Regions from separate parts of the Homo sapiens genome. Here all the other regions are linked to region 1. Evidence: promoter capture Hi-C in 16 types of primary human blood cells and fetal thymus (Javierre and others, 2016). All regions are on one chromosome and are shown on one strand. The core of a region is centred on a gene start or on the middle of the fragment in contact, and the rest is flanking DNA. Distances in the headings are between cores, read along the strand shown.

Evidence for each region. Contacts are between HindIII fragments. The CHiCAGO score rates a contact against its expected background, and 5 or more counts as called.
Region 2: a contact is called between a fragment that was not itself captured here and the fragment with the promoter of MAGEL2 in region 1, in 1 of 17 cell types (monocytes). The highest score is 5.5, in monocytes.
Region 3: a contact is called between a fragment that was not itself captured here and the fragment with the promoter of MAGEL2 in region 1, in 3 of 17 cell types (M1 macrophages, M0 macrophages and M2 macrophages). The highest score is 11.3, in M1 macrophages.

Annotation. Positions count from the first base shown.
Region 1 is chr15:23,646,205-23,649,398 of GRCh38, forward strand. MAGEL2 (MAGE family member L2) reads right to left here and starts at 1,663. Exons shown (of 1, transcript NM_019066.5): 1 at 1-1,663. The coding sequence starts at 1,538. RefSeq lists an enhancer at 106-950. The HindIII fragment of the contact is 5,160 bases long and covers 1-2,803 here.
Region 2 is chr15:25,927,554-25,930,747 of GRCh38, forward strand. The region is part of intron 1 of LINC02346 (long intergenic non-protein coding RNA 2346); the gene reads left to right. It also overlaps the pseudogene MRPS18CP5. Among named protein-coding and RNA genes, the nearest start is that of LINC02346, 27 kb to the left of the region's middle. RefSeq lists an enhancer at 2,913-3,194. The HindIII fragment of the contact is 7,826 bases long and covers 1-3,194 here.
Region 3 is chr15:25,697,033-25,700,226 of GRCh38, forward strand. All of the region lies in intron 13 of ATP10A (ATPase phospholipid transporting 10A (putative)), which reads right to left. Among named protein-coding and RNA genes, the nearest start is that of LINC02250, 120 kb to the left of the region's middle. RefSeq lists an enhancer at 1-181. The HindIII fragment of the contact is 2,829 bases long and covers 66-2,894 here.

The DNA.
Region 1 (3,194 bases), core at 413-2,912:
AGCGGTGGCTGGGTGGCCAGGACCTGTGGGGCAGGTCGGATGGGCGGCGGCGCCTGGCGGATCAGCGGCGGGGCCTGGCGGATCACAGGTGGAGCCTGGCGGATCACAGGTGGGGCCTGGCGGATCACAGGTGGGGCCTGGCGGATCACAGCGGGGGCCTGGCGGATCACGGGTGGGGCCTGGCGGATCACGGGTGGGGCCTGGCGGATCACCGGTGGGGCCTGGCGGATCAGCGGTGGGGCCTGTCGCACCGGTGGTGGGCCAGGGCGGATGGGTGGTGGGCCAGGGCGGATGGGCGGGGGCCCCTGGCGCATGGGCGGCGGCACCTGCCAGGTAACGGCTGGTGCCTGCCAGGTGACCTGCGTGGTCTGCCAAGTCAGGGGAGTGGCCTGCCAGCCTTGCTGCGTGGCCTGCCATCCTGGCGAGGTCGCCTGCCAGCCCGGGGGTGTGGCTAGCTGCGCTGGGGGTGCCTGCGGGCCCTGGGGAACCTGCGGAGGAGCCCTTATAACTTGAGACTGGATTTGCAGGATCAGAGGCTGAGCCTGCGGGGCCCAAGAAGCCATCGGCTGTGCAGGTGGGGCCATCGGCTGTGCAGGTGGGGCCGCCGGCTGTGCCATCGGTGCTCCTGAAGCTGGAGGCTGGGTCATCGGAGCTCTCGCACCTGGAGGATGAATCATCAGGACTCCTGGACCTGGAGGCTTGGCCATCGGTGCTCCTGAAGGCTGAGGCTGGGTCATCATGGCTGCTGGAGGCGGCTGGACCATCGGTGCTCCCGGAGCAGCAGGCTGGACCATCAGGACTCCCGGAGTCAGAGGCTGGGCCATCAGGACTCCCGGAGCTGGAGGCTGGGCCATCGGTGTACCCGGAGGGGGAGGATGAGCCATCGGTGTCCCCGGAGGTGGAGGATGAGCCATCGGTGTCCCCGGAGGGGGAGGATGAGCCATCGGTGTCCCCGGAGGGGGAGGATGAGCCATCGGGGTCCCCGGAGGAGGAGGATGCACCATCGGGGTCCCCGGAGGAGGAGGATGGGCCATCGGGGTCCCCGGAGGAGGAGGATGGGCCATTGGGGTCCCCGGAGGGGGAGGGTGGGACATTGGGGTCCCCGGAGGAGGAGGATGGGCCATGGGAGCTCCGGGAGCTGAAGGATGCACCATCAGGACTCCCGGGGTCGGAGGCTGGGCCATCGGGGCTCCCGGAGGTGGAGGATGCACCATCAGGACCCCGGGAGTCGGAGGCTTACCCATCGGGCCCCCCAGCGGGGGAGCCGGGACTATCGGGCCCCCTAGGGCAGGAGGCTGGGTCATCGGAACCACCGGGGCGGGCAGCTGGCCCTGTGGGGCCTCCCAGGCAGGCTGAGGTGCCTGCCAAGCGGCCAATGAAGCCTGCAAGTCAATTGGAGGTGGATCCCAAGGGACTGGCGGAGCCCGGGAGGAAGCGGGCGGGGCCCGCATCAGAACCGTAGGGCGGCTATAGACAGGCGGCTTCGGGGCCTCCGCCGGAGGACTCGAGTCACCCAGATTCTTACTTAGCTGCGACATGTCCCTTTGCTGACAGCTGGTGGGTCTTTTCCTCGGACAGCTGCTGGGCCTTTTCCTCCAGAGAGAAGAGAATGCCTACGTGGCTGTTCAGAGGCTCCCTCCCTGCTGAATGCTGAATAGGAAGTGAGTGCTGCTCGCTCCGCAGCTTTCCGCAGTAAGGAGGAGGGGGGAAGGGGGCTCAATCCCGCCCCTTCCCCGCCCCCGACCACCACAAGTGGATATTGCATAGGGGCGTCTACCGGAGTCCTGGCTGACACAGGATCCCTTCTCACTCTGTCCAGTCCCCAAATGCAGACCAGTCAGACTCCACATGGATGACTTTTCACAGGGGAGTGACAGGAACCCATCCATGTTTTAGAAAAATCACTGTACTGCAGTGTGGAGTGGGAGCAGACCACTGGAAACATGGAAGGTATCCAAGACGGCGGGGGGAGATGGTGTGGTCTGGGCTAAGATGTGAGGCGGAGAATGAAAAAAGCGCATTTACATAAGAGAGTTCCAGGAGTTATAGCAGACAGATACCTGTATTATAATTGAATAAAGGAGTCAAAGACATGGAAAAGGCACACAAGTCCCTGCCTGGAGAAAGTGGGAAGTTGCAGGGACTGTTACTCTCTTAGGGTCCCAGGAGAGGCACACGGGAAGAGAGGCTGATGAGTATTGGCAGACACAGGGCATTTGCGGTGCTGTGGGACTGCCAAGGAGAGATACCCTGTAGGCACTCCTGTATGATGTCTTGGGAGTCCTGCTTGGCTATTCCTCATGAAAATAGAGTTGTGGGAGGGAATGTGGTTGCACTGGGTCTTGAAGAACACAGGCATGTTAGAGACACATGGAGAAAAGGGACAGCAGCGAGTAGAGAGAGAGGAAAAGAAGTCACGGAACTGAGACATGCCACACATCAGTGGAAGACAGCATTTTTAGTATGGGAAAACTGCCTGTGGAATGGCTCGGATGCAGGAACAGAGTAGGTTTCTCAGTATTTTTCATCTGCAGAATGGGAAAGAAATTTAAAAAATGAAAACCAAATAACGCACCTGAAGATAACAAAATGGGTATATAAATAGATCAAAAATTGATATATTTGGATATATAGGAAAAACAGGCAAAGAATAAAAAAATTTCTGGGGAAACTTCTCGTGACAAAAATCAGTTTAAATATGAGACAAATCAAGTATTAACAGATAAAGCAGATGACAATAGTATTATTGGGCAATGCTATACAACTTTATGGTGAGAGGAAGTGATAATCTCAGTAATTGAAAAGCTTTCTGGAAATATACAAAGCACTAAATATCAAGGATGTTTCGTTTAAATAGGCTGTTGGCAGCCTACGGCAGGAGTCCAGAGTGACAAAACGTGCCACCAGGGGGCAGATGAGGACGATGAAGGGTACACCCCACTCCTTCCCAGGTACCCTTAGCCAGGGGTCCTCAAATTTGGTAATTTATGGACCCAAGAGAAGGTATGTACACACTCCCAATGTTATTATTGCCTTAAACAATAATAGAAGAATTTGGGGGTAAAGTTTCAGTGATTTTCTGGACACTTAAGGGATGTTGTTATTCCCAGGAAACTCTTTTCAAAACAGTCAGATTTTTAAGGGTGCTTGATGATACAGTAGCCCCCCCCACCTTACCTGCAGGGGATACATTC
Region 2 (3,194 bases), core at 371-2,870, 2.3 Mb after region 1:
GCTCAGAAAAGCATTTAAATTGTAATAGCAGTCAAGTCTCACTCCCCCTTGAGTGAAATAATTACCTCTTGAAGTCGCCTGCTATGTAGGCTTTAGACTAACTGACAGCAAGTAGCCATACAATGCCATACACACTATCGTTGAACAATGGATAGACAATTGGTTAATACCAATGTCATTTTGTAAACCAATGAGAATTGCTGATGAATAACTTTGGTAATCACCAACTCTCCTGATTCATCCTTTGTTTTCTTTAAAAACTTGAGTCTCTCGTTTGTTCTCTGGAGCACTCCCCAAGACAACTTGGAAGCACGTCCTGGGTTACAGTGCTAAATCTTTGTGCTTGAATAAACTCTCTTTAAACTAAAACACAAAGCAAAACGAAACAACAATGATCTTTTATATGGTTTTCTTTGGTTTCAATTTAATTTTTTTCTGCTCTAATGTTTATTATTTTTTCCTTCTAATTATTTTGCATTGGCTTTGTTCTTGCTTTTCTAGTTCCTTGAGGTGTGTCATTGGGTTATTTGAAGTCTTTCTACCTTTTTTTTTTACCTGTAAAATAAGTTTATCGGTGGTAACATGATATAATTTACTCCTGATATCTGATGTTACAAACTTTAGGGTCCTTGAGATATGCAGCATCCTTGGATGTAACTGGCAGAAACCCCATTATTTGAGCTCTCTTAATTGCTTTTGTGATTTCTTTCTGTTTCTTCCCACAAAGACCTGTTTTGTGCCTTCCACAAATGCATCCAACAAATGGAGAAATAAACTGGGACGCTGTACATTCTTAAAATCTACCTGCTTTCCACACAAGATACATTTCTTAAGGGCTTCTTTATAAGAATTTTCCATTGGAATGGGCAGGTCCTCATTGCTGGATATCTGTTTATATTGTGAACAACCTCTTCTCCATAGCACCATATGAGTCCTGGGATGTGTAAGGCTAACAGCAGCCATTACAAGGTGTGTCAACTTCTTCCTCCCCAGACCACTGCAAAGAGCAACTATAGTGGCCATGGTTCCACATTCCTCCACTGGTTCTACCTTTTATGTAGGCATTTATTGCCGAGCTTCCCTCTTTGAGATGCTTTTGCTGTATCACATAGGTTTAGGTGAAATGAGTTTCTTGTAGATAGCATATAGTTGGGTCTTGTTTTTGTTGTTGTTTGTTTGTTTGAGATGAAGTCTCACTCTGTCACCCAGGCTGGAGTGCAGTGGCGCAATCTTCGCTCACTGCAACCTTTGCCTCCCGGGTTCAAGTGATTCTCCTGCCTCAGCTCCTGAGTAGCTGGGATTACACACGCTTGCCACCATGCCTGGCTAATTTTTGTGTTTTTAGTAGAGATGGGGTTTCATCATGTTGGCCAGGCTGATCTCAAACTCCTGACCTTGTGATCCACCCACCTCGGCCTCCAAAAGTGCTGGGATTACAGGCATGAGCCACTGTGCCCGGCCATGGGTCTTGTTTTTTATCCATTCAGTCATTCTTTGTCTTTTAACTGGATAATTTAATCCATTTATATTCAAGGTTATTATTGATAGGTAAGGGTTTATTACCACCACTTTATTTGTTTTCTGGGTTTTTTTTAGACCTTTTCTTCTTTTTCCCTCTATTACTGTCTTCCTTCATGGTTAAGTGATTTTTTCTAGTAGTATGTTTTGATTCTGTGCCACTTATTTTTAGTATATCTATTACAGGTTTTTGCTTTGTGTTTACCATGTGTACAAAAAACATCTTATAGTTATAACAGGTTATTTTAAATTGATAATGACTTAATTTGACTGCAAAGAATAAAAGTAACAAAAATAAACTCTCCACTAATATGCCCCATCTTGACTTTTTCATGTTTCAATTTACATCTTTTTATATTGCCTATCTTTTAACCAATTGTTGTAGTTACCATCATGTTTAATAGTTTTGTCTTCTGTCTTCATACTTAAGAAATAAGTGATTTACTTGCCCCAATTGCAGTATTAGGATATTCTGAATTTGTCTTTTTTTCTTTTATTAGTGAGTTTAATACCCTTAGATATTTTCTTGTTACATGTTAGCAACCATTTCTTTCAAATTGAAGAACTCCCTTGGGCATTTCTTGTAACACAGATTTGGTGATGATGAATTCCTTCTGCTTTTGTTTGTGTGGGAAAGTCTATCTTTCCTTAGTATCTGAAGAATAGCTATGCTAGGCACAGTATGCTCGGTTGGTAGTTTTTTCCTTTAGCACATCAAATACAGCATTCCACTCTGTCCTTGCCTGCAAGGTTTCTGCTGAGAAATCCACTGAAAGCTGTATTGGGTATCTCTTGCATTTGGTTTGTTTCTTTTATCTTGCTGCTTTAAACATTCTTTCTTTGTCTTTGATTTTTTTAAATTTGATTATAATGTGCCTTTGGGATTTCCTCTTTGGGCTGAATTTTATTGGTAACTTCTGAGCTTCTTGTACCTGGATGGTGTCATTTTTTTTTCAGATTTGGGAAAATTTTATCCATTATTTATTTAAGTATGCTTTCTAGGCCTTTTCTCTTTTGTCTCCTTTGGGAATGTCTATTATGTGGAAATTAGTTCACTTGATGGCGCCCCACAATTCTTGTAGGCCCTGTTCACTCTTTTTTTAAATTCTTTTTTCTCTTTACTCTTCTAATTGGGTAATTGGGGTTATCTGGGCTTCATAAAACTGGATGTCTATTTCCCTTCCCAGATGTGGGAAGTTTTCAACCATTATTTCCTTAAATAAGTTTTCTACCACTTTCTCTTCCTCTTCTCTTTGTAGAAATCCCATAAAGCATATATTGGTATGTTTGATGATGTTCATAAGTTCCCTAAGTTCTCTTTACTTTTAAAAAATTATTTCTGTTTTTTTTTTGTTCCTCTGACTGGATAATTTCAAACGATCTCTCTTTGTGCACACAGATGCCTCTTCTTCTACCTGATCAAGTCTGCTGTTGAAGTTTCCTCTGAAATTTTTCAGTTCGGTCATTGTGTCCTTCAGCTCCAAAATTTATTTTCTTTTATCATCTCTATGTCTTTGTTGAAGTTCTCATTTTGTTCATGTATTGTTTTCACGATATCATGTGGCTTTCTTTCTGTGTTCTTTAATAGTTCACTGAGATTATTTAAGACACTTATTTTGAATTCTTTTCCAGGCAGTTCTTAGGTCTCCATCTTTTAAAAGATCAGTTATCGGTTT
Region 3 (3,194 bases), core at 230-2,729, 2.1 Mb after region 1:
TCCTGCCAGAAGACTGAAAAGGGGATTCTTGGGGAACCAGAGGCGCTGGAAAAATTGTAAAGAGAAGCTTGGCTAACTGACCCCATAATGTTGTTAATGAATTCCTGGGCTCACCCATAACAAAGCCTTTGAGAGGCAAACTCTGCAACAGACTGCCACCCAAGTTCCAAGGTGACCTCTGGAGGGCAAAAATGCAAGACTAGGTCTTATAAACACATCTGCCTTTGAAACCAACACCCAGAGCTCACAGCCCAAACCCCACAGGGTTGATCACCTGCTTAAAAAAAATCCACATTCTCCATAGAAATTAAAAATGGCCAGTGTCATAACATAATATTCGAAATGCCCATGATACAATCCAAAACTTCTTAGCATACAAAGAACCAGGAAAATCTTAACTCTGTGGAAAAAGACAATCCACAGAAGCCAATGTCAAGATGACACAGATACTGACATTATCGACAAAGAAAGACGAAAACAGCCATTATCCAAAAGTTCCAAGAAGTAAGATTGAACATGCTGGAAATGAACAGAGAGACAGACAGTCTTGGCCAAAAAGAAGGAAGATATTTCAGAGAACCAAATAGAAATTTGTGACAGAAATACATTAACTGAAATAAAAAGCTCACTGGATTCTAAATCATCTATGTAGATACTCTGCCCTCAAGGAGAAAACTATAACTCCACACTCCTTAACTGTGAGCTGTGCACAGTGACTTCCTTCGGAAGAATTCAGTATGGGAAGAGGCAAAGAGTACAGTGACTGAAAGGTCAACCCCAACAGTGACATGGTGTTGACAGCATGTACCCTTGATAGGATATGATGAAAATGGCACTTGACCTCTGTGGCTGTCCTCCCTAAAACCCTTAGCTCCACTTTAGTGATAAGAAAAACATCAGACAAATCCCAATATAAGGGCATTCTACAAAATACCTGGCCAGCACTCTTCAAAATGGTCAAAATGATTAAAAATAAAGAAAGTTTACCGAAGTGTCACAGCCAAGAAGAGTGTAAGGAGGCATGATGACAAAATGTAATGTAGTGTTCTGGATGGGATCCCAGAACAAAAAAAGGACACTAGGTAAAAACTAAGGCAATGTATGAACTTCAGAAAGTAATGATGTATCAACATTGGCTCCTTAATGTGATAAATGTACTAGGCTAATGTAAGATCAGTAACAATAAATTATGTATGGCATACATGAGAAATAAGTCTGTACTATCCTCACAGTTTTTCTCTAAATTTGAAACAATTCTATATATAAAGTTTATTTTTGAAAACTCTCTGGATGGGCCCAATGGGAGAATAGACACGACCAAGGAAAGAGTCAGTGAAGATCCGCTTTCACTTAATGAATAGTAAATATATTTTCTCTTCCTTAAGATTTTCTTGATAACATTTTCTTTTCTCTAGCTTACTTTATTGTAAGAATACAGCATATAATACATACAATATACAGAATAGGTGGTAATTGACTATTTGTTATCAGTAAGGCTTCTGGTCAACAGTAGGCTATGAATAGTCAAGTTTTTGGAGAGTCAAAAGTTATATGTGGATTTTTGACTACATGGAGGGATTGGTATCCCTAACCCCTACGTGTTCAAGGGTCAACTGTACTATAAACTGATGGAAAATAAAAATTTAAAAATACTACTTACAAAACCTACAAAAAATGTTGTACAGATGGTCCCTGACTTACAATGGTTCAATTTACAAATTTTCAACTTTTGGATGGGTCTTTTGGGGTATTAAATACATTTTCAACTTATGATTTTTTTGACCTATGATAGGTTTATTGGGACATAACCCCATCATAAGTTGAGGAGCATCAGTGCTTGGGTATGTATCTAACAAAACATGTATATGATGTGTATGCTGAAAACTATAAAATGCTGATAAAAGAAATAAAAGAAGACCTAAAAAATGTAGAGATATACCATGTTTACAGAGTGGAAGATCAACATAATAAAAATATCAATGCTTCCCAAATTGATTTATAAATTTAACAAAATTCAAATAAAAGCTCCAGCAGGAATTTCTGAACAGAAAAATTAATTTAAAATTCATATACGAAGGCAACAAATAAGAAGACTAGCCAAAACAATTTTGAAATAGAATAAAGTTGGAGGAATAACACTACCAATTTTTAAGACTTATAAAAAACTACAGTAATCAAACTACTACAATGAATCAATACACGTCGTATTGGTGAAGGGATAGACAAACAAATGAATGGAACAGAACAGAAAGTCTAGAAACAGACCCACACAAATGTAACTAACTGATTTTTGACAAAGACGCTTTCAACCAAAAGAAGACGCTTTCAACAAATGGCACTGGAGGAACTGGGCAGCCACATGTGGAAAGATGAAGTCTAACCTAACCCTCACACCTTTCATGAAATGTGACCCAAAATGGACTGTATCTATAGATAAGATGTTAACGTGTAATGCTTTTAGAATAAAACACAGGAGAAAATATTCATAATTAGGCACATCTTAGACATGACACCAAATGCATGATACATAAAATTTAAAAAAAATGACCAATCAGACCAGGCACAGTGGCTCAAGTCTATAATCTCAGCACTTTGAGAGGCCGAGGCAGGACAATCACTTGAGTTCAGGATTTTGACACCAGCCTGGGCAACGCTGGGGCATCCCATCTCTTAAAAAAATAAAAAATTAGCCAGGTATGCTTGTGCGCTCCTGTGGTCCCAGGTACTAGGGATGCTGAGGCAGGAGGATCCCTTGAGCCTGGGAGGTTGAGGCTGTAATGAGTTGCGATGGCACCACTGCACTCCAGCCTGGATAACAGAGTGAGACCTCATCTCCAAAAAGATAAAATAATAAAATAAAAATTTAACAAGAATAAAAATTTATCAAAACTAAAAGCTTTTGTGAAAGACAATATTAAAAAATAAAGAAGATAGGGATGAAATATATGCAAATCACATAGCCCACAAAGGACTTACATACAGAAAACATAAAGAATTCTCAAAACTGAACATTAAGAAAACAACTCAATTAGAAAATGGAAAAATACTTGACAATTCATCCAAGAGGATATTTGAATGGAAAATAAGCACATGGAAAGATGTTCAACTTCATTAGACACTAGTGAAATGCAAATTAAAACCATAACAAGATACCACTACACACCCATTAGAGGGGCTAGCAGAAAAAAAATCAA